Regions from separate parts of the Homo sapiens genome. Here all the other regions are linked to region 2. The links are contacts of gene promoters, found by promoter capture Hi-C in blood cells and fetal thymus (Javierre and others, 2016). All regions are on one chromosome and are shown on one strand. Each heading gives the region's core, a stretch centred on a gene start or on the middle of the fragment in contact. The rest is flanking DNA. Distances are from core to core; before and after follow the strand shown. Region 1 overlaps MACC1 (MET transcriptional regulator MACC1). Region 2 holds the start of ABCB5 (ATP binding cassette subfamily B member 5). Region 3 overlaps MACC1 (MET transcriptional regulator MACC1). Region 4 overlaps LOC101927769 (a long non-coding RNA gene).

Region 1 (6,929 bases), core at 3,750-6,249, 470 kb before region 2:
AAAGCATCGCAGAAAACAGACATCTCAAGAATTATAAAAGGGTAATTTTGGGGTTGTCCACTACACTACAGATTCAAATACTTTTACAGTCAAAAGCAGCCAATATGGCCCCACCTACTTTCATGGGAAGAAAAGCTCTGTATCTATGGCCTATCTTGCGGCAGGACTGTGAATTGCTATGTGTAGAGGAGCCCTTAGGCACACTCAGTCAAGAAGCAGCTTCTCCATGCTGTTGAGGGCAGGAAATACCACAGGTGATGCAAAAAATAGAAACTACAGATTCAGGAAAGGTCCGACGACACATCTACTCATGCACTTACGCAGAGCACCACATAACGTCCTCACATTTGGCAATTTGTTGTTGTTGTTGTTGCTTTGCTTTGTTTTGTTTTGGAGACGGAGTCTGGCTCTGTCGCCCAGGCTGGAGTGCAGTGGTGTGATTTCAGCTCACTGCAACCTCCCACTCCCTGGTTCAAGCAATTCTCCTGCCTCAGCCTCCCAAGTAGCTGGAATTACAGGCACGCGCCACCACGCCCAGCTAATTTTTTTGTATTTTTAGTAGAGACAGGGTTTCACCACCTTGGCCAGGATGGTCTTGATCTCCTGACCTCATGATCCGCCCGCCTCGGACTCGCAAAGTGCTGGGATTACAGGCATGAGCCACCACGCCCAGCCCTACATTTGGCAATTTGTACTAACAACAGAGTAGTGTCGATAGCTCTTGCAAATCAGAGAAATTTGGGTACAATACTGAGTCCTAGGCCCTAATTAAGATTTTTGAAGGTGTAAAGACTTCCCAAGAGTCCCCTGAATTTGTCTGAAATGCAAGGGGGAATATTGCCCTAAACCGATTTGAGACTCCCTGGAGTGTAAGCTGTAATCTGGCTAGAAATGGGTAAAAGAGCATTGGGCTGAAAACAATAGGGCGTTGGTAAACTTTACGATTTACACTAAAATATGAGCATACTCTGTATTCCATTTTTCTTCCTCATTGCAGCAAATTAAACCTGAATATTCCTTTGGTGCAAAAATTCATCTTCTGTGTACAAAATCATTGGTAGCTCTCAACAAAGATGATAGAGAAACACTTTTATAGCATAAATACAATGAAAATATTCAACATTATCATTGTTCATTAACTATTTTGCTTATCAAATCAAGGTTTATTATCTTCCACTACAATAAATTTTGTTACAGTAAGAAAATGATGAATATTGCATGACTCTTGCTTTTAGAAGCTTATAGCGTAGGAAGGAGATAGACACCTGCACAAACACTGGCACAGGGGATGAAATAGGATGTGATAATTACAGAAAAACTCAAAAATTACTTGCATATTTTAAATCAGTGTGAGAAAAAATGATTGTTGTATTCACTGATGCTATAATGGAAAGAAAGATAGGTTTGGGTGGCAGAGTCCTGTGTCTACATCTGAGTTCTGTTGCCTATTTGATAGGTTAATTTGATAAACTAATCAAGTTATTTCAGCTTGGAATTTTTTTAATCTATAAAATATGGATAATCATTCCCAAATTTTGTGTTCAAAATACCTCATGATGTATCTGGCATATAGTTTGCATTTATACTTCTTAATAGGATAGAGAAGAAAGTACTTATTTTTTTGGCAGGGGCAAGCTAAAGAGCCTATTTTCAGCCCTACTGAATATCAAGCAAAAGGGAGGGTATCTGATAAAAAATTACAGTTGGAATGAGGAGATGACCTTGAGAGGACAGACAAGGGTTTAGCATCACTTGTGCTACAGGGATGGCAAAACACATGAGAGCAGAAGAAAACACCAAGGAAGAGAAAAAAGGGATGCAAAATTTAATTCTCAACTAAGTCAATTATTAGTGGATACAAGAGAGAAATAGACGCAATAAAAGGATGGGGAGAAGCTGGAGTCAAAGAAAAAGAAAGTGAATCACATGCTTCATCTTGCAAAAGCCAAGAAGTATAATAACATCCCAAAAAGGACATGCATTGGCTTGCTGGAGCCAGCTCACACAAGCTCCCTGGATATCCTCCCAACTCCATGTTCCACAACTCCAGTGACACCACAATGGTAGGTTAAAATGATGTACGATCGGAATATTTACACTAAGAACATTAACAAAAGCTATAAGTTTAGATTTTTTCCCTCTGCAGGGTTGGTTGGTAAACATATGCCAGTGTAACACTGAGGACTTCCCTTTTCTGTTACCTCCACTGCTACCTGTAACATCAACAATGTGGGAATATAAAGAAAAACTTGGCAAATCCAGGATTTTGGAAATTAGCAGGACTTTGGTAACTTGGAGAAGGCAGTTTCAAGAGAATAGTCGGGGGCATACGACAGGTACAAACAGGTATCAAAGAAATGGAAGACACCAAACAAATGGGTCACATCTGAAATTTGAGTGTCAAAGGAAGAGAGACAGAACCAGAACAAGCAGCAGTAGAAAATAGAGGTATTTTTAAAAGAAAAACAAATTTAAAAAGTAATATCCTACCAGAACAAGCAGCAGTAGAAAATAGAGGTATTTTAAAAAGAAAAAAAATTTTTAAAGTAATATTCTATGATGGCAAGGGGATTTGGATTTGAATCTTAGCTTTGCCATATGGAGAACTTAAGGTTAATGAGGCTTAAAGAGGTAGCATATATAAAGCACCCAAGAAGAAAGGTTAACTTCCTTTGGCAGAAACATAAATACAAAAGGATGTTAAAATCATTATGGAGTTAGGGCACAAAATTAGAGGGGCAAGTATCATGAGAAATCGAGAAGGAATGAGAACAAAAGCATATGTCAAGACTTATGTACTTAATACACTGATAAAAAATATTAAATTGGGGGAACTATGTTTTCCCTTAATAAGTAAATCTCTAGGCTGGGGGTGGTGGCTCACGCAAGTAATCCCAGCACTTCTTTGGGAGGCTGAGGTGGGTGGATCATGAGGTCAGGAGTTCGAGACCAGCCTGGCCATTATGGTGAAGCCCTGTATCTATTAAAAATACAAAAATTAGTGAGGCGTGGTGGCACGCGCCTGTAGTCCCAGCTGCTTGGGAGGCTGAGGCAGGAGAATCGCTTGAACCCAGGTGGCAGAGGTTGCAGTGAGGCAAGATCATGCCACTGCACTCCAGCCTGGATCTCAAAAAGAAAAAAAAAAAAAAAAAGTAAATCTCTATTTGAGCTTTGCCTTAAAAAAACCTGATTAATCGTCCAGGTCTCTTCAATACAGTAAATAGGCTAATCAGTTGTTTAATTGTCCTTTGTGGAATAGATATATGAACATTTGGACACAAGTTCTAAAGGTACTTTTATTTTTTCTGCATTTTTTATCTCATTTCATTCTGGTTTTCTTAAACAGTAAATACATTTTATCCAAGGCAGAGACATAAGAGGTAATTTGTGTACATTAATTAACAATAAACTCTATGAAATTTGCCCTAAAATATCTACCCAGTAAGGTCACAAAAAATTCTAAATTTTTTAATAAATTACAAAGAAAATGAAGTCATCTTTTCTGGAAATGTTTGAAGGAATAAAATGCGTAGAATAAATAATTTTCTTTCCGGACTGACTAACATTTAATCCTCCGAAGGCTAGAAAGGAGTTGCAGACAGCCAAGATCTCTTCCAGATTTATGTTGTCTTGTATCTATTCTGTGTTTTAAAAATAGTTGTTCCTCTCTTGCTCAATGTTATGATTAGAAAAGATATGCAGAAACTCTACACTTGTGTTTTGAAAAATCTAAAGGAAAGCCCTCTCAGGAGGGCTTGTTTTTTAGTTGTTAAATTATTCTTAACCACAAAAATTATCTCAGCCTTCTCATTTCTATCACAAATATTTAATACATAGGCTGCATTCTTATGCCTCTATTCTTAGATTTTTAATGGTAACTTCATGATGTTGCAGTTTCATTCTTGAATAGGAAGCGTGAGGCTGATAAAAGCACAAAGTTGTTAATTTTCATCTATGTGCTTTTCTTTTTATAAAAAAGGGCAGCAGCGTGAGTAAGTATTTAACATACAAAGTTGAGCAGTTTTCCAAAGTTCAAGCTTTTGTGTGGAAGAAGTGTGTCTTAGGTTATCTTTTCAGTGTTATAGGACAAAATAAAAAGTAATGGAGCAATAAAAAGTAATAAGTGGGATGCCAAAAGAAATGAAATAGGAATAAAGGCAAAACATACATAGTTTTCCAAATTTAGAGTGCTCATTCCCAGAAGCCAATAAGACTCATTAGAAAATGCACTAGAAAATGAAATGCCACATGAGTAGAAGAAATTCAGATTTCAGCATAGCACTGTATGTCTTTTTTTAGCTTATAAAATATGAATAGCATAAAGAATGCAATTGGTTTTAACTACTTTTGGATAATTACATTTTGTCACATTAAAGGATTAGTAATCCACTTACTTCTCCTATAAACTTACAGGAACAACACTTCATTTTCAGTACCATTAGCTGAAGAAGTATTAAGGCAAGGTTGCCTTCTTAATGATTATTTCATGTGTTCTATCCTCAGTACATCATTTACAATATTCAGGTAAGCTTTAACACTTAACATTTAACATTACCTATAATTAGTAAGTACATAAATATTGTTGAAGGTAAGATTGCTGTTGTCTTCAGAAGAGAAGGGAGGCTAACATATCTGGGGGCCCCTATGTCCTCACGAGGGAGATGCTGCTTGGTTAAAACTTGACACAAGATTCCATTGAAAAAGTCTATTTGAGGACAACCAGCTAAATTTGGGTGAGAATAACCACTTGGAACTTCAGGGGTTAAGCATGAGCCAGAGGAAGACAGAGGACCTATTCCTTGCTAGTGCATCTGCTTAAATAGTCTAACATTATAGGAAAACCTGCTGGTTAAGCCATCTTACCAATTCCTAGTTGGGAGGATTCCTCATTGCCTCCTCATCATCACTGCCACCCATGCCCCTGCCAAAAACATATATTCATGGAGACAACTGACACCAATGTTTAAAGAAATTGGGCTCCTTCAATTTAATTTTTCAATGTAAACATTAAAACAAATGAAAAAATACAGTGTCAAGAGCTCTGGATTTAGCGGCACACATCTTGGTTTAAATCTAGACTCTTGGTTTAGTAGCTCCAGGATCTTAGGTAAGCTATCACCTTTCTTTAGGCCCTTGCTTTCCCCTTCTGGCAAATGAGAAAAAAGGTGTACCCAATGCTATAAAAGAATTGCTAAGTATACAAAGGAATGGATGTAAATGTTTTTGGCACACACCAAGTGCTCAATTAATGCTAATTATAGTTGAGTTTAAAGTTAAGAAACAAAATCACAGTCAACTATCCAGGAAAAGAACCCAGGTAACCTTGCTATAAATCTAGGGCCATTTTACTAAAGTATTGCCACAACTTTATTTCATTATTAAGCAGTTCTAACAAATGCTGATTTTGGTCTTACACATAGCTGGATTTTGGTTTTCTGAAATTCCTTATTGTTTATGTTCCCTAGTACTAAAGCTTGAAAAAGAAAACCTAAAGTCAAAATTAAATAGTGTCTTTAAATCCATTTTGAATTTTCTTAATAATGTTTAACTTAATATGCATGTTATTTCTATTTGATTTTCAGTGTATAATATAGAATTAAGTCAAAGATCATAGGAATACAATGTGTTACCCCAGAAATTTCACTGTGCTATCTTTGTTTTCTTTCCTACCTCATTCCTCCCAAAATGGAGTATCTTTTTGAAATTAAAGTTTGTAACAAGTATAGAATTGTACAAAGTAGACATGGTAATCTAAATTGTACAAAGTAGACAATGGTAATCTAAATAACATCACTGTGCCAAATCTCTAGTTCAAACAATGGAGATTTGAGATATCATTCTATACATTTTACAACTGGTATGTGAATTTCCATATAATACTTTTCCCTTCTCTAAGAAATTATAAATATATTTCTCATTTCAAAAGAACAGCAAACAAAAGAATTAAGTACCAAGGCTAGAACTGAACCAGGCCCTGATACAGACCTTGATAATTCAACATCCCTGTAAGCAGAATCCAGAAGTTGCCATGTAAGCCAGAAAACCATACAGCCCAAGGACATTTCTTTTAACTTTTGCGAGAGATAATTTCCAAGGAAAATTAAATGTTGTTAAGCCCATAAGAAATAAGCTGATCAGCCAAGACTTTATCTCATTTTTTTCCATGCATTGCTATTCTGCCAGTTTCTCAGATGAGAAACCTTGAAATAACTGCTAACTTTTTCCTTACATTCTTCCTATAGGCACTCTCAGTCACATTACTAAAAAAACAGTGTATTTTATTCTATTTTCCAAAAATTACTCAAAGTTATATAGTTATCAAATTCACCTTTTCCTCTTCCTCTTCATTAAAATAATAAATAATATGTATTTAGTGATTACAATATGCAAAACATTGTCCCAAATATTACACATTTATTATCTCATTTGATCTTCTAAACATCCAGTGAGTAAGATAGTATTATTCTCCTTACTTCACAGACACACAAAATAGATTCCCAGAAAAGTAAAGTAATTTGCCCAAGGCTTGAGGGCTGATAGATGGTAGAGGTGGAACAGAAGTCCAGCCAAGAATCTTAACCTCTATGCTCTGGTAGTCACTGAAGACTCCCCTCCATTGATACCAACATATGTACCTGACCACATCACCCAGTAATTAGTAAGGTGAACTCTCCCCTCCAGGCCACATCTTCTCAGTGGTCCCTAGAGCTCACTGATATTTAGAAGCACTGAAGTCTACTTCTATTCCTCTCCAATTACTCAAAGGCCACCCATCCTTCAAAGCTAGCATGTCTCCTAATTACTCCTCACCACTTTGATATTTTTTAAGTAAGTTAAATTTGAAAGGGCTTATCATTAGTATAATACAGTGGTTAGGACTTTATATAAGACAACGTGAATTCAGATCTAAGTACTTGCCCTTAATAGCC
Region 2 (6,787 bases), core at 478-2,977:
AGTATTTCAAAGAGGTATCTGCACTCCCCTGTCCATTGCGGCATTATTCTCACCAGCCAATATATGGAAACAACCAAAGTGTCCATTGACACATGAATCGATAAAGAAAAGCAATATTATTCAGTCATAAAAAAGAAGGGAACTTTGTCATTTGTGACAACGTGGATGGAACTGGAAGACATTATGTTGTGTGAAATAAGCCAGAGATATGTGTGAAATCCAAAAAAAGTCAAACTCCTAGAAGCAGACAGTAGCATGGTGGTTACCAGAGACTAGGAGGTGGAGGAAATGGGGAGATGTTGGTCAAAGGGTACAAACTTCCAGTTATAAGATGGGTACAGGATGGTGACTACAGTTAATAATTCTGTATTGTATATTTGAAATTTGCTAAGAGAGTAGATCTTAAGCGTTCTCACCAGACACGCACACACACAAACACGTAAATATGTGAAGTGATGGATGTGCTCATTGCAGTAATCATTTCACAATGTATATGTATATCACATCATCATGTTGTAAACCTTAAATATAGACAATAGTATTTGTCAATTATACATATTAAAGCTGAATAAATAAAATAAATTAATTAAAATTATATAAAACTCAAAATTCAGCTCCCTCACTAGGCACATTAAAAGCGCTCAATAGCCACATATGTGTAGCGGCTAGGATATTGGATGTGTGGAGAATATCTCAATTATTGCAGAAAGTTCTGTTGGATGGCTCTGCTCTAGAAGTAACACTTTTAGCTACATTACACCACTTCTGTGCATTTAGATGACATCATGAGATTTTTAAAGCAAAATTAATTATTCCTTCTGTGCATATGACAATTGCAAGTTTATCTCTAGGTTGGCAATTTTCCTAATTATTAGTGCCACATTTACATCTGTTTGCCAGATATTTTCACTTGGACACCAATATCAACCCAAATTTGCATATTTAAACTGAATGTTACCATTTCCCCAAAACCAATTCTGTCTCATAACTTCTCTATTACCATCTTTACTACTCTTTTGTTACAACTTTTAAAAGTTTGATCGCTGAACTTATATTTTTTTTATTTCTTCTTCCTTGTCCTCTTTACCTACCTACCGCCTTAAAAATACCTCTCAAATAGTCTTACTTACTGCTATCAAACTAGATTTTAATGAGTCTACTTAAATCTTGTGTTTCCCCAAGTCCTTCCAGTATATCCATGGCTGTAATGTCAAATAATCAGGTTAATTGTACCAAATACCAATGGCTTTGTCTCTTTCATTCCAGAAAATTATAAAAGTTGTCCTAAAAATTGGTTCAGTGCCTTTTACAATCGTATGTACCTTATCTCTCTCTCCATTTCTGCATGAACAGTCCATCCTATCCAAACCGTTCTCATTTCTCTACCATGAGATAATTCACCTTGCATTCCTAAAACTATGCCCTTGTTCCTCCTCCACATTTTTCTACTTACTGAAACCTTAGCCTTCCTCCAGAAACTAACCTCAGGGCCATCCTCATCTGTGGGCGAAACCATTTTAGATCACAATGTTCTTCCTCAGTCTTCTTAGATACTAGAATAGTCACTCTTTGTACTATTCATCACATAACGTCTGTCTTGCCAGGTATATTAGGTTCCCCTAGAGAAATAGAATCAATAGGCCGTGTGTGTGTGTGTGTGTGTGTGTGTGTGTGTGTGTGTATGTAGAGAGAGAAAGAGAAAACACGCTCATGTAATTGTGGTGACTGGCACTTCCAAAATCCACAAGCCAGACTAGAAGGCTGGAAATTCTGGCAAAAAATTGATACCTTGTATCTGAAAGCTTTATCCTATCCTCTTCAGAAGACTTCAGTCTTTTCTCTTAAGGACTTCAACTGACTGGATGGGGCCCACTCAAAACAGCATCTAAGGAATTAAAGTAAGTCAAAGCAAAAGTATTAGAGATTATGAAAACAATTGAAGCTTGTGAAGAATATAAAACACTTCTCCATCTTAGAAAGAATAGTTTGTGGTAAAGATGGAAACAAAAATGTGTGTGTATGAAACTTTTTCATAGTCAGAAATGATCATCCTACTATTATTTTGGTCATTTTAAAGCATCCATACAATTCATATCTTCTTTCTTTCTTTCCCTGTGACAGGGTCTCACTCTGTCACCCAGGCTGGAGTGCAGTGGCACGATGTTGGCTCACTGCAACCTCCGCCTCCAGGGTTCAAGAGATTTTCCTGGCTCAGCCTTCTGAGTAGCTGGGATTGCAGGTGCCCAGCACCATGCCCAGCTAATTTTTTTATTTTTAGTAGAGATGGGGTTTCACCTTGTTGGACAGGCTGGTCTCGAACTCCTGACCTCAGATGATCCAGCCGCCTTGGCCTCCCAAAGTGCTGGGATTACAGGCATGAGCCACTGCGCCCAGCCATATCTTCTTTCATCTAACCAAAGATCCCATGTTTTCCATCCAACCAGTATATCTTAGCTATTTGTCAGATTATTCTTACCAAGGATGCTTGAACGTTAAGTGCATCTCATGATTTCTTCTCACATGGGTATTTTGTCCTATGATTTCCATCTTGGTACATGAACCTAGAAATATTTTTTAAGGCAAAAGTCCTTATAAATAAAATATTCTGTCTATTTTTACATTTTCTTGTATGTTCCATAGTACTTGCCATGATAGCATCCACACAGCTGTCAATAAGTAAGAATTGGCTGACTGATAGATTTTGTGTAGAGCAATTAAGATGTTCAGAGTTCTTCTCTCATGTTATCTACTTAGTGCTGGATATTACTACCTGATTATCTCACAAATATCTCAAACTTGACAAGTTTCAAGTTAAATTTATCTTCCTTTTGAAACATTGGGTAACAGAGAGGAACATGGGGGCAGCCATCATAGTCAACCTGTAGCTTTCCATACAGTGAGGACCTGCCAACTGGCTCACAAATTGCTTTGACCTTGTGTCGCTTTGTCTCAGTGCACTTTTCTCTACTATCTAAATAGTATTCCTTCTGCCTGGGATAGTCTTTTTGATCTTTATATAGCAACCTCCTTTTATAATTCAGATTGCAGCTTAAACATTATCTTCTACAAGGGGCTTTCTCTGACCAGATGTATATAAATACCACATTACTCTTCATAAAATTACCCTGTTTTAATTATATACCAAAAACTGACCACTCTCTAATTTTCCTTATTTATGTATGCCTTTTTTTAAAATTGTGACTCTCCCTGTAATGGAGTCTAAGCTCTATGACAGCAAAGATGTCTAGGCTGTTCAGTGCTTAAAACAGTACCTGGCACAGTATATATCTATAGAATGAGTAAATTTTTTTAAAAAATCATCTAATGAGCTTGTTTAAAATGTAGATTTTTTTCCAGTGCATTTCTTTAGATTATCATTCAGTACATGTGGGGCAAGGCCTAGGTAGGTGTCTGATATCTTTAACATGCACTCCAGGTGATTCTGATGCCAGAGGTCCTTTGACAATACTTTAAAACTGTGCTATTAACAGCAGATAAAAACAATATGTTGTCAGCACTAAGGTGTATTTTAAACTTTATTTTTATAATCTTGGATTTAGGAAGATAAAATTTCCTCTAGATAAGTAGTGCCTTCTGTTTCTCAAGGCTTTGTGCTAGATACTATATAGTCATGTTTCTCAAAATTTGATATGCATTACAAACCACTTCGACAATCTTGTTAAAATGCAGATTCTATTCAGAAGTTTTAGAGTGAGACCCAAAAATCGCATTTTTATAATGGATTAAAAATATATAATCTAACTGTATGCTGTCAATAAGAGAATCATTTTAGATCTAAAGGCAAATAGGTTAAAATCAAAAGGATAAAAAGAGATAATCCTGCAAATATTAACCAAAAGAGAGCTGGAATGGTTATAGTAATATCCAGACAAGTTACACCTCAAGTCAAAACCTTTTATAAGAGACAACAAAGAACATTAGATAGTGATAAAACAGTCAAATCACCAAGAAGATATAACAACTATAAGCACACAGCCACAAAATATCACAGCTCCTAAATAAACACTGACAGAAGCAGAGAGAAATAAAAACTTCTGTAATAATGGTTAGAAACTTTAAGATTACCCTTTTTTGCTAACAGCTTTATTGAGATATAATTCACATATCATAGAATGTACCCATTTAAGATGTACAATTCAAAAGTTTTTGTATATTCATAGAGTTGAGCAGCCATCACCACATTCAATTTATAGTGGTTTTATCATCTTGAAAAGAAACCCTGTATCCCTCTCATTAGCTGTCATCTCTATTTCTCCTCCACCCAGCAACTACTAACTTACTTTTTTCTCTATGGATTTGCCTGCTCTAGGCACTTCATATTAATGGAATTATATAGTATGTTGTCTTTCGTGATTGGGTTATTGTACTTACCATAATACTTTCAAGGTTTATTTATGTAGCATGTATCAGTATTTCATTTATATGGCTATCTTCACCTTTTATATAATTTCAACTTTTATTTTAGATTTAGAGCTTACCTGTGCAGGCAGGTTTGTTACATGAGTTCATTGTGTGACACTGAGGATTGAGGTGTGAATAATCCCTTCGCCCAGGTAGTGAGCATAGTACTCGGTAGGTAGTTTTTCAGCACCTTCTCCCCTTCCTCTCTCCCACCTCTGATAGTCTCCAGTGGCTATTTTTCTCATCTTTATGTCCATGTGGACCCAATGTTCAGCTCCCATTTATCAGTGAAAACATACAACATTTGGTTTTCTGTTTCCATGTTAATTCACTTAAGATAATAGCCTCCAGCTGCATTTATGTTGCTACAAAAGATTTCATGGCATATATGTGCTGCATTTTCTTTTTTTTTTTTTTTTTTTTTTTTTTTTGAGATGGAATCTTGTTCTGTCACCCAGGCTGGAGTGCAGTGGCACGATCTCAGCTCACTGCAACCTCCACCTCCCGGGTTCAAGAGATTCTCCTGCCTCAGCCACCCAAGTAGCTGAGACTACAGGCATGTACCACCATGGCAGGCTAATTTTTGTACCTTTAGTGGAGACGGGGTTTCACCATGTTGTCCAGGCTGCTCTCAAACTCCTGGCCTCAAGTGATCCACCTACTTCGGCCTCCCAAACTGCTGGGATTACAGGCTTGAGCCACCATGCCCAGCCACGTACCACATTTTCTTTATGCAATTCACCATCGAAGGCACCCAGGTTGCTTCCATGTGTCTGCTATTGTGAATAGTGCTGTCATAAACATAAGAGTGCATGCGTCTGTTGTGTAGCATGATTTATTTTCCTTTGGAATTGTTGGGTTGAATGGTAGTTCTGTTTTAAGTTCTTTGAGAAATCACCACACTGCTTTCCACAGTGGCTGAACTAATTTACATTCCCACCAGCCTTATATAAGTGTTCCCTCTTCTCCACAGCCTTGCCAGTATCTGTTATTTTTTGACTTTTTGATAATAGCCATTCTGATTGGTGTGAAGTGGTATCTCATTGTGGTTTTGATTTACAATTTTCTCATGATTAGTGACGATTAGCATTTTATGTTTGTTGGCCACTTGTATGTCTTCTCTTGAGAAGTGTTTGTTCATGTCCTTTGCCCATTTTTAATGGGGTTATTTGTTTTTTTGCTTCTTGAGTTAAGTTTCTTATAGATTCTAGATATTAGACCTTTGTAGGATGCAGAGTTTGCACATATTTTCTCTCATTTTGTAGGTTATGTGTTTACTTTGTTGAAGTTTCTCTTGCTGTGCAGAAGCTCTTTAGTTTACTTAGGTCCCATCTGCCAATTTTTGCTTCTGTCACAATTGCTTTGAGGATAGGCTGTATATTCTTTGCCAAGGCCGATGACAACAAGGATATTTCTTAAGTTTTCTTCCAGGGTTTTTATAGTTTCAGGTTTTACATTTAAATCTTTAATCAATCTTGAGTTAATTTTTATCTATGGTGAAATGTAGGGGTCCAGTTTCATTCTTCTGCATATGGCTAGCCAGGTATCCCAGCACCATTTTTTGGAGTCATTTCCCCATTGTTTATTTTTGTTGACTTTGTTAACGATCAGATGGCTATGGGTGCCCTGCTTTATTTCTGGGTCCTGAATTCTGTTCCATTGATCTGTGTGTCTCTTTTTGCACCAATACCATGCTGTTTTGGTTACTGTAGCCTTATAGTATACTTTGAAGTCAGGTAATGTGATGTGTTTAGCTTTGTTCTTTTTCTTTAGGATTGCTTATAGATTAGAAAATATCAGAAAGGACAGTCTATTTAACAAGTAAAACTGGATATCCACATTCAAAAGAATGAAGTTGAACTCTTACTTTACACCATATAAAAAACCAACTCAAAAATAGGTTAAAGACCTAATCATAAGTGTGAAAATTATCCAACTCCAGAAAAACACATGGGAAAAAATTTTTGACACTGGATTTGGCAAAGATTTCTTAGATATGATGCCAAAAACACACACAAAAACAATAAAAACGTAGATAATTTTTTCTTCAAGATTGAAAACTTTTGCTTATTAAAGGAAACTACCCAGAGAGAAGAAAGACAATCCACATAATAAAACAAAATATTTGCAAATCACGTACTTAATAATATCCAGAATATATAAAGAACACCTACAACTTACTATAAAAAAAAACCAAAAACCTAATTTTAAAATGGGCAACAGATTTGAATAGACATTTCTTCACAGAAGATATACAAATGAGCAGTAAGCATATGAGATACTCAACATCACTAGTCATTAGGGAATTGCAAATCGCAACCACAATGAGATACCACATCACACCCACTAGGATTTCTATTGTCCA
Region 3 (6,373 bases), core at 3,414-5,913, 450 kb before region 2:
CCAAAATTAAAAGTTTTTAGCACAGAATAAGTAGTCAAAACTTTGAGGTAGAAAAGCTGAGCTCAAGTTCCTCAGCAAAATGTAACAAACTAAATTAAAATGAGGAACAAATGTCTAAATGGAAAACTATTTTCGAAAAGATAAAATATATTCTTAAAAAATCAACTTAGTAAACTACCTAAACTCTTTTTTTTTTTATGAGGAAAGAGCAAAATGAGCAATATGTACTGAGGATTCCTTTGAGGCAAATAACCGTTGATATGAAAAATAGTTATAACCAAATGGAATGTAGGTAGAAGTCCTCAACCACATAAAAACCAGGAATGATGCCTTACGCAGCTATGACCTTGAAGGATCATAACCTCTCAGAAACAAAGGCACCAAAGGGTCGTTAGCTGAGATTCTTTGTGGATTATCCTTATTCTCCAGTCACTCAAGCAGGTCTTCACTGTCCTTCAAGGTAGTTGTTCCAAAACTCAGTGGCACCAGGATCACTTGGAAGGCTTAATCAAACAACCCTTTGGAACCACCCCAGTGTTTCTAATCCAGAAGGTCTGGGATTGTGCACAAGAATTTTATTTCTAACAAAGCTGTCAAATGATGCTGATACTGTGGTTCGGTTCCAAGGGGCACATGCTGAGAACCACATTCTGAAAGCCATTCTAAAAGCTCCTTCCCTAGCCAAATGGTTTCCCTAGCCACTCTCACTATCCCACAACAAATCCTCTCTCTCATAATCTTTCTCTACACAAACACATCCCTCCATCCCTCACAGTACCATCCTAAATCTAAATTTTTTTCTATGAATCCAAGGAGAGGTGGTATAGGGGAAAAAAAAAAATCCTCGACTGGAAGGACCAAGATCTGCCTGGACAATGGCATTGCTTGTTTACACAGGTGCAAATCACATTAGCCACATTTAGCATTTCCCTATGTTTTCTTCCAATTAAACCCCATACTCAATGACAATTGCCGCCCAAAACAGGATTTTTTTTTTTACTTTATCTAGAGAAACATGAGTCAGTCTTTGTTGGAATGAGTAAATGAGAATAGAGTACTCTAGTATTCATTTAATTTGGGACATGGTTTTTCAATATGCCTTTTAAAAATACTTATGCTGATTTTGCATGATCCATTACTTTTTTCCTTAAGAAACCAACAAAGTTTTGCCCTTATTTATTTTACTATTTAAACTAGGCCCTAAGCAACTAGAAACATTTACCAAATGTACAACTTAGCAAAAAAGTCAGAAGATATTTTTTGTGAGGATAAGGGGTGGGGAGCAATGCAGTGTTTGGAATAAGTAACCAAGAAAACAATACACTTAAAAGAATTATTTCTTTAAAATGTGTCCTTTGAATTTTTTATGATAGTAATTACATTGTGAAAATTGCTAGTGTTAGCCAGCTGGTAGGTTCAAAGTATTTTTCAGTTAGTGCTTGAATACCTGAAACCTCGATGATTTCCATGAATTTGTACTGTATTTAACTCTTGATCTATGTGATAATAAAAACATGTCCATGTAGGCTATAACTCTTATAGGTGACAGGAGAGCAACTGTTGGACTAGTAGACTTTTCCTTCACCTGCCAAATGCCAAACCTGCCCAAGTAACATTGTATTACTTGTAAATGCAACCAGTATTTTTTTAAAAAGGCCCACAAAGGAATCATAATCAGCTGATGATACACACCTGGTATGATTTTACTGGACATTACCATGCTGTGAGTGGCCTTACTGGATCTTACCCTAGGGCAACTTCTGATGGAATAGTGGCACTCTCTGATTGGTAATTTTTAATAGTATACACCATACACAAGCATACTTTCTCCCAGTTATTAAATACTTCAAGTGTTGCAGCTGATGATTCTGACCAAATATTTAAAAGACCTGACAGGGCAAATGTCAGCAGTTACTTTTCCCCAAGGCAAAGAGTTTCAGAAGATTCTCCAGGGAAGGGAGCAGGCCTCCCAGTGCATTAAGCGGTATTAGAAATCCATAATAATTTCTATGATACCTCCAACCCTGGGAACTCAAAACATTTCATCAATACGTCATCTTGTTAATATCACCAGGTCAAGATGTCTATCACTTCTTTCTATCTTATTATCCTTCCATCACTGGCAGAACTGAAGTTCAGGAAAATCATAATAATTGTGCAGCATAACATCATATTAGTGAGACTAAATCAGGGATATAAAAACAGTAGGTCAGAAACTGTTTGAAGTGCAGCTTAGTGATGTAGTCAAGGAACATATCCAGAAATCTAGATCTGGAAGAAAAGGTATAAAGGACTCCCTGAACAGATACACAAAAGGAATATCTTGGGCCTGTAAAAAATAAAAAAGGTAAAAGATAATCATAAGAGCTATTATTCATTATTTATTTGGAGCTTGCCACACTTCTGGTATCATGCATGGCTTTTCTTGTTTACTTGCAACAATTCTAGAAAGTTGGCTCTACCATCATCCTTATTTTTTTTTTAATTTATTATTATTTTTTCAATGGAGATGGAATTTTGCTCTGTCGCCCAGGCTGGAGTGCAGTGGTGTGATCTCAGCTCACTGCAACCTCCACCTCCCGGGTTCAAGCAATTCTCCTACCTCAGCCTCCTGAGTAGCCAGGACTACAGGTGCATGCCACCACGCCCAGCTAATTTTTTGTATTTTAGTAGAGATGGGGTTTCACCATGTTGCCCAGGCTGGTCTCGAACTCCTGAGCTCAGGCAATCTGCCTGCCTTGGCCTCCCAAAGTGCTAGGATTACAGGCATGAGCCACTATGCCTGGCCTCCATTATCCTCATTTTAAAGGTAGGGAAATAAAGTCTTAGGGACATTATATGCCCAAGATTATAAAGCTACTAAGTAGCAAACCAGTCTTTGAACTTAAGGATACTAGATACTAGCAAACACATTTTTGAACTCTACACAACACTTTCTACCTATAGGTTAAAACTTCTCTTCCAGAGGAAGCGAAATTTGAGACTACACCCTGACCCTGTTGCTGGAGAGTAGTATCAAGCCACAGTGTTGACCCCGGAAGATCTCCAAGTTCACAGCAGGACCTGCATCATGGGCATGTGACCTGTGCAATAACACAGAGCCCCACTCTTGGATAGGCCCCATGCTTGGTGTAATGCTCTGCCACTGCCATCTTGAAATACCTAATATGTTTTGAACAAGAGGTCCCATATTTTCATTTTTCACTGGTGCTGCAAATTATGTAGCTGGTCCTTGTTCACAGAGTTGGCAACCTTTACTCTTCAGACCCAGAGAAATGACTAAAATTACAAGGGGCCATGAAGAAAGGAGAAAAGCATTATTTTGGATGAAGAATGCTCATCTTACAGATGATGAACCAAGCTGCAGAGAGGTTGATAGTTATTTGTCTTTTTTATTTGAATTCCCTACAGTATGTTCATTTTACACGTGTGTGTGCATGAACATACCCACAACACACATGCACTTCCTTGGCTTAAAAATATGTTGAGAAATTTACAAATAGTCAAATAACACAATGAGTTTAAACAACAAGTAAGTGTATATTATTCTTCAGTAAAAAAAAAAAAATTTAAAAACAAAATAAGTGAATAAATAAGGGTGACATTTGCAGGAAGTTGGTAGGACAACTTCAAATAAAAGCAACTTCACAAACATCATGCTGTAAATTCCAGTATACCTATTAGCAGTAGTCCACACATTTGGCTCTCCACTTTCTGAAAGTGACCAAAATAAGGTAAACATGATTAGTTACAAGCTTCACAGTGATCATAGAACACAAAGAAGCCACTTAACAGCAGCACCAGCAATACCTGGAATAAAGAGGGGTGAAGAGGAGCATGTAACTACTGGGGACAGTATCCTCGGTCCCACCTTTTACAGTATGTTCAACAGTAAATCTCTTTAATGGAGCTCTTTCTTAATGTGTGTTGATGTCATCTCACCCAAAGGCAATTCTGTCAAGTCAGGTGGAGAAGAGTGGGCCCAGCTAGACAGCTATCTGCCTCCCTATTCTAAGATAAGCACACATGTCAGGTTACAATCCCAAAAGGACAGGACCTAGTCCAGTAAAGCCCACTATGCTTGGTTCCTCTCAACAGAGTTTCCCTTTCCACTTTTCAAGTCAGAGCTGACTGAGACATTCTAGGCCTAAGATCCAGAGCAGCTTTTTCTTTTGAAGACCCAAACAATTCACTAAGTTAAAGATAGGAGTCACGTTCTCTTGTGAAAATTGAGATGAGTAAATTTGAGATGACAATTGAGATGAGTAGCTAAAATGTAGCCTGAGCAGAAGATCATTCTACTTCTGCATGCTGTGCCATGATAGGGACTGCAGTTTTCCTCAGAAACAGTTTTGTTACTGCTCCCACACAAGAGCATACATTTCCAACTTTCAAGGCCACAGAGCAAAGCTGTAGTACTTTCATTGTGAAAAACATTTAATGACTTCTTTTACCTAATCCCCACTGTTGCCATAAAATATTCCCAGTGATATGTCTCTCAGGTTTAACTTTAAGCAATAGATGTTTCAAGCAAACTCTGAGAAATAAATTAGCTACAAATCTTGTCCCTGGGATTGGACAAGTTTAATTATTGCAAGAGTAGTTGGATATGACTTTGTGTAGTTATGGACCTGCAGTCATTTTTCTTTCCTGTACCCTTCAGTGCAAAAAACGTGTTCTGGGTTGTACTTTTCAAAAGGTATAAAGATCAACCCCCAATTCAGAAGGGGTGGACAAGACGTGGGTTTATAGTGTGGCTAATAAAGCTGTAACTGTAGGGTCCTCACTTGCATGGTCTTTTCTAGCAAACTGAGCCAAATTCTGTATTTGTTTTCTCTGCAAAGCTCCACTGCTTCCTAGAACACTTGACAGTATATCAGGAGACCTCACTGGTTGTCATCAGTCAGCAATGTCTTTCCTTTCTTTTATGTAAATGCATTTTTGTAAAGTAGAAAGAATATAGGCTTTGGAGTTACAATTCTCTGGTTACAGTCCTTCTAGTATAAACTTGGAAAGATACTGAACATTTCTGGAACTCTACTTATCATCTGTAAAGAACTAAACTAAAATAGGTAATAATTAGTATTACTATCAACATATAATAACCCCACATGCTGTTCATAAGGATCAAATGAAATACTGTATAAAAAGTGGCACAAGAGGACCCCTTGCTTTTCCTCTGGTCTCTCCCTCCTGGTTATTCCAGTGCATATAGAAATAACTTTGCCAACTGGGCCCATTCAAGAATCTTCTCCTCTCAATCAGATGTCTTGAGACTCCAATCTCTGATAGCTTACAAGTTGTGTCTTGGGACCCTGTATCCTATTCTTCACCCTTCATAGAAAATTTTACCAGTGCCATGATTCCTGCCAAAAGAGTGACTGGACTCATCACAGCAGAGGCACTGGAGTGCAATAGAAAGAACGCAGTCTTTGAAAATAGACAGACGTAACTTCAGACCAATGCTTAGAAATGAATTCACTGGTCTGAGCACCATTTCCTCATCTACAAAATGAGGGTAAAATATTGTCTTCAAAAAGTGGTTACAATGATACGTGAAATATATCTCAATAAAGCTTTTTTAAAAAATTGTTGTAAATATTGAAATAACATAAATCCCCAATGAACATCAGTTGCTGCTTAAAATGATAATTCTTCTCTGTTTTTCACTTCTGTGCCAATTCCGTTGGTCTTAGACAATGTAATGAGTGGTTACTGACAAAGATATGTAAAGAATATTGGAAAAGAGGAAACAGAATAAACACTGTGAAAGTTTGTCATTTTAGCTTAACAGATTATTCAACTTGACAATACTTTTCACCTCTCTGAAGGGGAAAATGTAAAAATTATTGTATCGTTTAAAATTAGATTTGTGTTAGTACTTTTGCAGTAAAAGCAAGTATTTTTAGCCAACACTTGCTGAGTTGTTACTGTATGGAATTAATCGTAAGATTCCCAGCATTCTTTGCCAAGAGAAAAACACTCTGACATTTTGTGTATACTCACAGTTTTCCTTGGTTTGAACTTCAAACACTGATGTGAATCATTTGCATATCATCTGACAAGGCTACCTACTTGAAAGAGAATAAACATGAATCTTTGGTCACTGTTAAGTGAAAACAGAATGTTTATGCACTAACGTTTGCTATGAGAAAGAGCTTATGAATAAAATTTGGTAGAATGGGTAAGATTAAAGAGAGACTCATTACACCACACCATCCAATTCATACAGCAGGAATTTCCCTTAAATTCTCAACAATTGATTACATCTAGTTTCTAATGTTTCAGGGAATCACACTGTTTCCATTTGTTATTTTTGTAAACAGAACGGTGTGCAACAGTATGAACTCTTTGTCAAAGCAGTGACTTGAAA
Region 4 (6,431 bases), core at 3,059-5,558, 300 kb before region 2:
AAATCAAATAATGAAAGCTTTCACAATACGGAGGTTTTCTCTAACCTCCTATCATCAAATAGGCATACACTTTGAATTGATTTTTTTTTAAGTTTTGGGAATTGGATGTTCATCTTTCTTTTATTGACTTTCATCTCATTTTCAAAAGTGTGCAATAGTATATTGCACGTGAAAGTAAATGGCCCACTAAGATTGAAATGCATTGCTTTGAACTAAAGAGATATAAATTCTAATATCTGAATTCTTCATGGCTATATACATGTATACTAAGTCCTTTTGCATAGTGGCTGACTCTTTACGCTTTTGGCATATTTGAAGTTAAATTTTAATTCATATTACATTTATTAAGTACTAAGAAGACACACTCACCTACTATTTTAGAATTGTTTGTAAGTTTTAGGTCTTGTAAGTTTATGAAAACAACACTGACACACCATAATATATACTGGTTTCATAGCACTTAACAGATTTGGTAAATTTTACCTACAAGAAAATCAGTTCTTTGAGTTTTTCTTAGGTTACTGATTTTGCATTTAAAAGTTTTTACCTTGATTAAAGACTCCAGGTTTTCTGGGGGACTGTGTAGTTGACTTAAAAACTAACCACTATTATACAAAATTTTAGTTGAGAGAAACTATCTGTGTCTTCTTTTTTTTATTGCTATGATTATAGAGCCAACACACACAATCATGTAGGTTGAGCACTGCCAGGGAGCCCTTCTCAACCTATGTGTGGGGCTTCATATATAGTGGGATTCATTTTGCAATTCCCACTGAAACTATGCCATGAGTTTGCTCATCAGATGGAAAAAAAATTTCTGCTTTGATAATGTCGAATGAAGTATTGCTTTACTCTGTAAATGTATAAAATGTAACATTTTAGGGTTGAGGGGACACTTAGAGATCTTCTGGTTCTCCTCTTTGGTTTCATAGAGAAGGAAAATGCCCCCACAGAAATCATGACTCCTTACCACAATTTTATCACCATATATATACCCTAAGAGTCAAGATTAGAGATGGCTCTCCTGATCCCTGGCCTTGGGAATATCGCTTTAAAACCATTCAAGGCGACATAGAAAATATTACATTTCTATCACATAATTCCGTAGATACAACCTTCTAAGTTTTTAGCTTAATTTTCTTCCTAGACAATTTTGTATTGTAAATTACTAGAGGACAGAAATAATTTCTGGATAATTCTGTGGGCAGCTTGCTATGTAATCCAGCAACATGCTAAGTAGGCTTTTTTTTGAGAAAGGATGTCACCATCTTCATTGATTAATGTAGTGGAAAATATTTAGAAAAGGAGCTGTTTCATGCTACTCTGGCATCTATTTTGTGAAAGTATAATTTTGGAATATTGACATTAAATAACGGAACTAGAGTTTCTTAAGAATTACAATCTTTACTTTCCCATTAGTGTATTGGGAAACTTCACTAGTTTATTCATCTTCTCTATGGAGGTTTTCTTTATTACTATCAACCCACACTTTCTCTTTTCTTCTTTTTTATTACTCAACACCAATGTGTGGTTTTTAATGAATTATTTTAATTTGTTCCTGTTCTCTTGCTGCATCTAGAGAGATTGTCAACTCCTTGTGTACTGAGGTTGTCGTTTACTTTGTTTTCGCTTCTCTATGATGCTGGGTGTGTATACAGCCATTGCTAAATGTGTACTACTTAAGGTGACAAGAATTGAGCTAGAAACACTTCATCAAAAAGTCCTGACTAATTAGAAGCAACTACCAAATGTAGTCTATATTGCCAAAAAGCCTTATCAAAAAGTGTATCATGAATCTAAATGCAAACAGAATTAATGGTTAATGAGAAAATTTTTACATAAATATTACTCTAAAACAATATCTAATAGTGATGTCTAAAACTTTTTGAGTAGATTAATGCATACTGATTAAAAGAACAAACAAGGAGTTGAAACGAGTGCATGTCATCACAAAATCATAATGCCTTTTAAAAAACATTTTATCCTTTTCTTTTTTTCTAGAACTGAAAGGGGCACATGGCAGATACAATCATAAACTTTCATTTCGGAGAGCAGTAAAAAAGGAGAAGAAGAACACACTGGTACTCCAACAAGTCATAGTTTCTGCCAGATGTTGCAAAAGTGAGTTAGATAACTGACCTTTCTTCTGGGGCCTGTGTCAACTTTGAATGGAGCTTTCAATTGTACAATAAGCATCTGGACAGTTTTGACATCTTTATAACACTCTTTGAGTTCTTAAAAAGCTACCATTTTGTTTAAAGATGATTTATGTGAAGATTAAAACAATTACTTAAGTGCTAAGAATAATTAATCCTGTAACTCCATATCAATACCATTATCTTCCCAGAACTGGGTCTCTAACTACTAATCATAATCAAGACACCAACTGTCAAATCAAATCAAAATTAAAATTTGATTAATTATTTGATGATATTAACATTCAAATCTAGTTCCTTCTTAGGCCTAATTTTGTCCTTATGTTTGCTTTGCACTGAATTATTGTGGTTTAAATAGCCCATTTTACATGACAACTTTCAAACAAGAGCATAAATTCTCATAAAAACAGGCTAAGGAATTCATAATGATAGCTCTTGGCCGCCACCTAAAGGTTTATTTCTTGTTTTATTTTACATGAGACCTACTATGCATTCCTTTTATAATAAAATTGTTGTCTTGTCATCACATGTTTCTGCATAAGTACAGGGTAAAAAGACTTTTTCAAGTTTGTTTTTTCACCTTTATGTAGTTAAATTAACAGCATATATAATTATATCTACTTTTCAATTCATTCAACACAACACACACAAAGAAAACCAGTTTAAACAAGGTTCTTTTAAATGGTCAGAAAATTTTTATGCGTTTAAGAAATAGTGTGTTCTTATTATGTATCACCCCCCACACCTAAGGCCCGTAATGAAAGAAATTTAACTAAACTCACATTTACTGAACCACTGTTGAGTGTAATGTAATAGAAAACTCCTCAAATTCCATCAAGAACATTAACAGATATAACTTCTTCATTACGCTTGAGAGTAAATGAGATACTATAATTAATGATTCTTGCTCCGTATCTTATTATCACTCCCTTTATTCTCCTCCTAAAAAGCACTTGATTGAATCAAGCTAAATATCTTCAACGCCTTACTTGGACTCTGACAAAGTCAACCTTGGAGAATGGATTTATGATATCATAGGGAAAATTAGTTATGAACTCTACAAACTTCTCATTTCAAAGCTCATATGGATAGAGCATCTATGAATCACTCAAATTCTTGTTAAACATATAGACAAGTTGCATTAGCACATGCACTTTCCAATATATAGTCCATGTACTTATCCTTGATTTATCTATAGAACGCCATTCATGATTTTATTAATTCAAAAAATATTTACTAGGCACCTACTATGTGCCAGGCACCCATCATTATCAGTGTTCAGTAAAGCAGACTGGTCTTTCCCTTCATCGATCTTGTGAAGGCAACAGAAAATGAACAAAAAAATAGGTAAAACATATAAAGATACTGGCTACAAAGGAACTGAATACCATACCATTATAGGGAATAATTCTGGGGAGACACAGACCAACAATAGGTAGGTAAGTCAAGAAAGGCCTCTCCTAGGAGACAGTTTTTAAACTGGGACCTGAAGAATAAACAGCCGGCTCTGCCAAGAATAGAGAGGAAGAGGTGGAGGAAATTGTGTACGCAAAGGACAAATACTAACAGAGGGCCAAGGGAACTAAAGCAGAGTGAGCCAAGGGGAGTGTCATGGATGGGATTAGAGAAGTAAGCAGAAACCAAATCATGCAAGGCCTTGAAAGCTATGGTAAGGATTTGGGGTTTTATTTGAAAGAGAATGGAAAGCCATGATAGCAGGTTAAAAAAGGAAGTAAATTGATCTGTTGGCTGCATGAAGAAGGAATTAGAGGCAGCCAAGAGAAAAGGGAGATAGAAGTCTATCACAGAAATACAGATGGGAGAGATGATGGTGATGGTGACATGGACAAGGTGGTAGCAGTGGAGGCAAAAACAAGTGATCACATTTGTGATGCATTTTGGAGTGAGGCCTTGGTGGATCAGATGACCCTGTGGTTCTGCTGTTCCTTCCCAGCTTGTTAGCATCTGCTGACATAACTTTGAAAAGCTGACATAGTTTTCCAAATAAGATTTTAAATCACACCCAAGCTTTTAATTCAGTTTTTTTAAGTTTTAAAGAAAATATCTTAATAGAATGACCAATTTGTACATCGAGAAACACTTATTATATAGTATCTTCTGCAAATGAAATAGTCCACAAAACTAATTTTATAAATAATGGAAGTGTATCTATTAAAAGCAAAAGAGCTTATTTTACTTTAACCACTTTGAAATAATTATTTTCTAAAATTGTTCAATATTTCCTTGATCTTTCAAACAGAATATATTCAAAATAGTTAAGCTTCTCAAAAACTCAAACATATTGTGAAGAAACGTATATGAAACATACCTCTGTAGTATGTAGTATGGCTAAAAATAGTGAGAGGCAAAAATGAGTTTCCCCTACTCTGAAAAACTGAAAACTACCTTGCTGTGAAATCATTACATTTTTATTTTGTTGCCTCAGTTTCCCATAGTCCTTATGGTGCCTGACTGTCGTTATCAACTTCTGACTCATTCTAACACACTGCTTTACCTTGGCTGTAAGCTGGGAACCCTGCTATCAGAAATTCATGTAAGTTTATAGAAAAAGACTCTAAGTAAAGGGTATGAATTTTTGCATTCTATTTGGATTGCACAGAGGCCTTTTTACACTCTGCTTTCTCAAGTATAGTTTAGGCCATTGAAGCTGCTTAATCAGCAACATGTAAGTCAAGGAAATCTCCCTACATTAGCATGTTATTTCCTACAGTTTCATAATGCCCCTTGAAAACTGAATCCACATTAATATATACATTATCATTTTTAAGTTTCTATAAAGAATCCTTCCTTGTGATACAACTTCAACTACATAATTATAAATGTTGACTTTTCATTTGATGCCTAAAGTATAGTTTTCAAATGTAACATAAAAGCATTTTATGGTAAAATTTGACCCAAAAAGTAGAATTTATGTGTCTCATAAAAGCATATAAAATTTGACCCAAGAAATAATTTCAAATTTCTTGACTCAGACTATAATATTATCTCTTTTCTTTTTTCATTTTGACATGGCATGGAAACAAAAACAGATCAAATGTCCACAGAAACCCAATCAGCAACACTACTTTCAAAGTGTCTTTTGACAAGTAATATGTGCATTTTACAAATCCAAAGGCAATATTTGAAGTAGCTCTTCAAAACAGCTGCATTACTCAAAGCTATCTCTGTATCATCGCCTTGTTTCCTGGAAGAAAATGTGGAAATGTGTACTGAAAATGTGTAAATGATTAAAGCATCAGTATAAAGAAAAAACATTCTGAAGATGAATAAAAATTATTTTGAGGGCTTGTTGAAAAACCAAACACCAGATGTCCACGGCTGACTTGCCAAATGAAAATCCTTGAAAGAAAGGTCCAGAAATTGGCATTTCAAATGAATATACCCCAGCTGATTGACACAGGTGTTCCTTTGAGCAATCCTGGATAGCACTGTTGTAGACCCTAGGTAAGCAATTGTGTGATCTGCTTTTTCAACTTTGTGGTAGATTGTATTTTCCAAAGATGACAGCACCAGTACATACCATCCTATATGCTCTTCCTATAAGGTGACATTGACATGTCTCCACCAAATGATGGGATTTACGTTACCTCTTCTTGGACCCGGGTGAACTTTTGACTACAGTAGAAGTGACACTATGTGACTTCTAAGGCCAATTCATAAAATGCAATACAGCTTCCTCCTGGCTCCCTTGGGATGCTGGCCCTAGGAAACCAGCCACTATGCTGTGAGAAAGCCAAGCAGCCACATGAAAAGGCCACATGTAGGTCTTTCAGTCATAGATCCAGTTGAAATCTCCATTGACAGCCAGCCTTTAACCACTATGTTAGTGAGACTTTAGATAATTCTAGCCCCCAGCTTTTGGGCCACCCCAGTAGACAAAAGACAAGCTCTTTCACCCAACCCTGGCCAAATTTCAGATTTGTGAATACAATTTATGTTGTCACTGTTCTAAGCCACTAAATTTTAAAGTGGTTCGTTACATAGCAATAAATAACAGAACAAATTCCAAATGCTTCCACATCTTCTTCAGATAAAATGTAAAGCCCCACGTAAACCTTCATGCATTCCAGTTTGCATTTAAGGATTTCATATTCTATCCAGCCAGATCCACCCCCAGCCCAGACTGACTTACTGGGTCCTGCTTTAGTTAATTGGCTAAGTCTGCAGTTCTCAATCAGGAGAGATTTTGCTTCCCACAGAACATTTGGCAATGTCTGGAGACATTTAATGGTTGTCACAACTGGGGGGAAGGGT

The links. The method cuts DNA at HindIII sites, captures the fragments that hold promoters and counts their contacts. A CHiCAGO score of 5 or more calls a contact.
Region 1: a contact is called between a fragment that was not itself captured here and the fragment with the promoter of ABCB5 in region 2, in 1 of 17 cell types (monocytes). The highest score is 5.6, in monocytes.
Region 3: a contact is called between a fragment that was not itself captured here and the fragment with the promoter of ABCB5 in region 2, in 3 of 17 cell types (M0 macrophages, M1 macrophages and megakaryocytes). The highest score is 6.1, in M0 macrophages.
Region 4: a contact is called between a fragment that was not itself captured here and the fragment with the promoter of ABCB5 in region 2, in 4 of 17 cell types (M2 macrophages, M1 macrophages, total B cells and 1 more). The highest score is 8.7, in M2 macrophages.

Annotation. Positions count from the first base shown.
Region 1 is chr7:20,143,014-20,149,942 of GRCh38, forward strand. All of the region lies in intron 6 of MACC1 (MET transcriptional regulator MACC1), which reads right to left. MACC1-AS1 (MACC1 antisense RNA 1) reads left to right here. Exons shown (of 4, transcript NR_046756.1): 2 at 4,414-4,524. Among named protein-coding and RNA genes, the nearest start is that of MACC1-AS1, 4.6 kb to the left of the region's middle. The HindIII fragment of the contact is 944 bases long and covers 4,528-5,471 here.
Region 2 is chr7:20,613,940-20,620,726 of GRCh38, forward strand. It overlaps ABCB5 (ATP binding cassette subfamily B member 5), which reads left to right and starts at 1,728. Exons shown (of 28, transcript NM_001163941.2): 1 at 1,728-1,898. The HindIII fragment of the contact is 15,833 bases long and covers 1-1,800 here.
Region 3 is chr7:20,164,708-20,171,080 of GRCh38, forward strand. It overlaps MACC1 (MET transcriptional regulator MACC1), which reads right to left. Exons shown (of 7, transcript NM_182762.4): 2 at 6,007-6,071. Among named protein-coding and RNA genes, the nearest start is that of MACC1-AS1, 26 kb to the left of the region's middle. The HindIII fragment of the contact is 1,821 bases long and covers 3,754-5,574 here.
Region 4 is chr7:20,309,034-20,315,464 of GRCh38, forward strand. It overlaps LOC101927769 (a long non-coding RNA gene), which reads left to right. Exons shown (of 5, transcript NR_110117.1): 5 at 2,002-2,679. Among named protein-coding and RNA genes, the nearest start is that of ITGB8, 19 kb to the right of the region's middle. The HindIII fragment of the contact is 253 bases long and covers 4,183-4,435 here.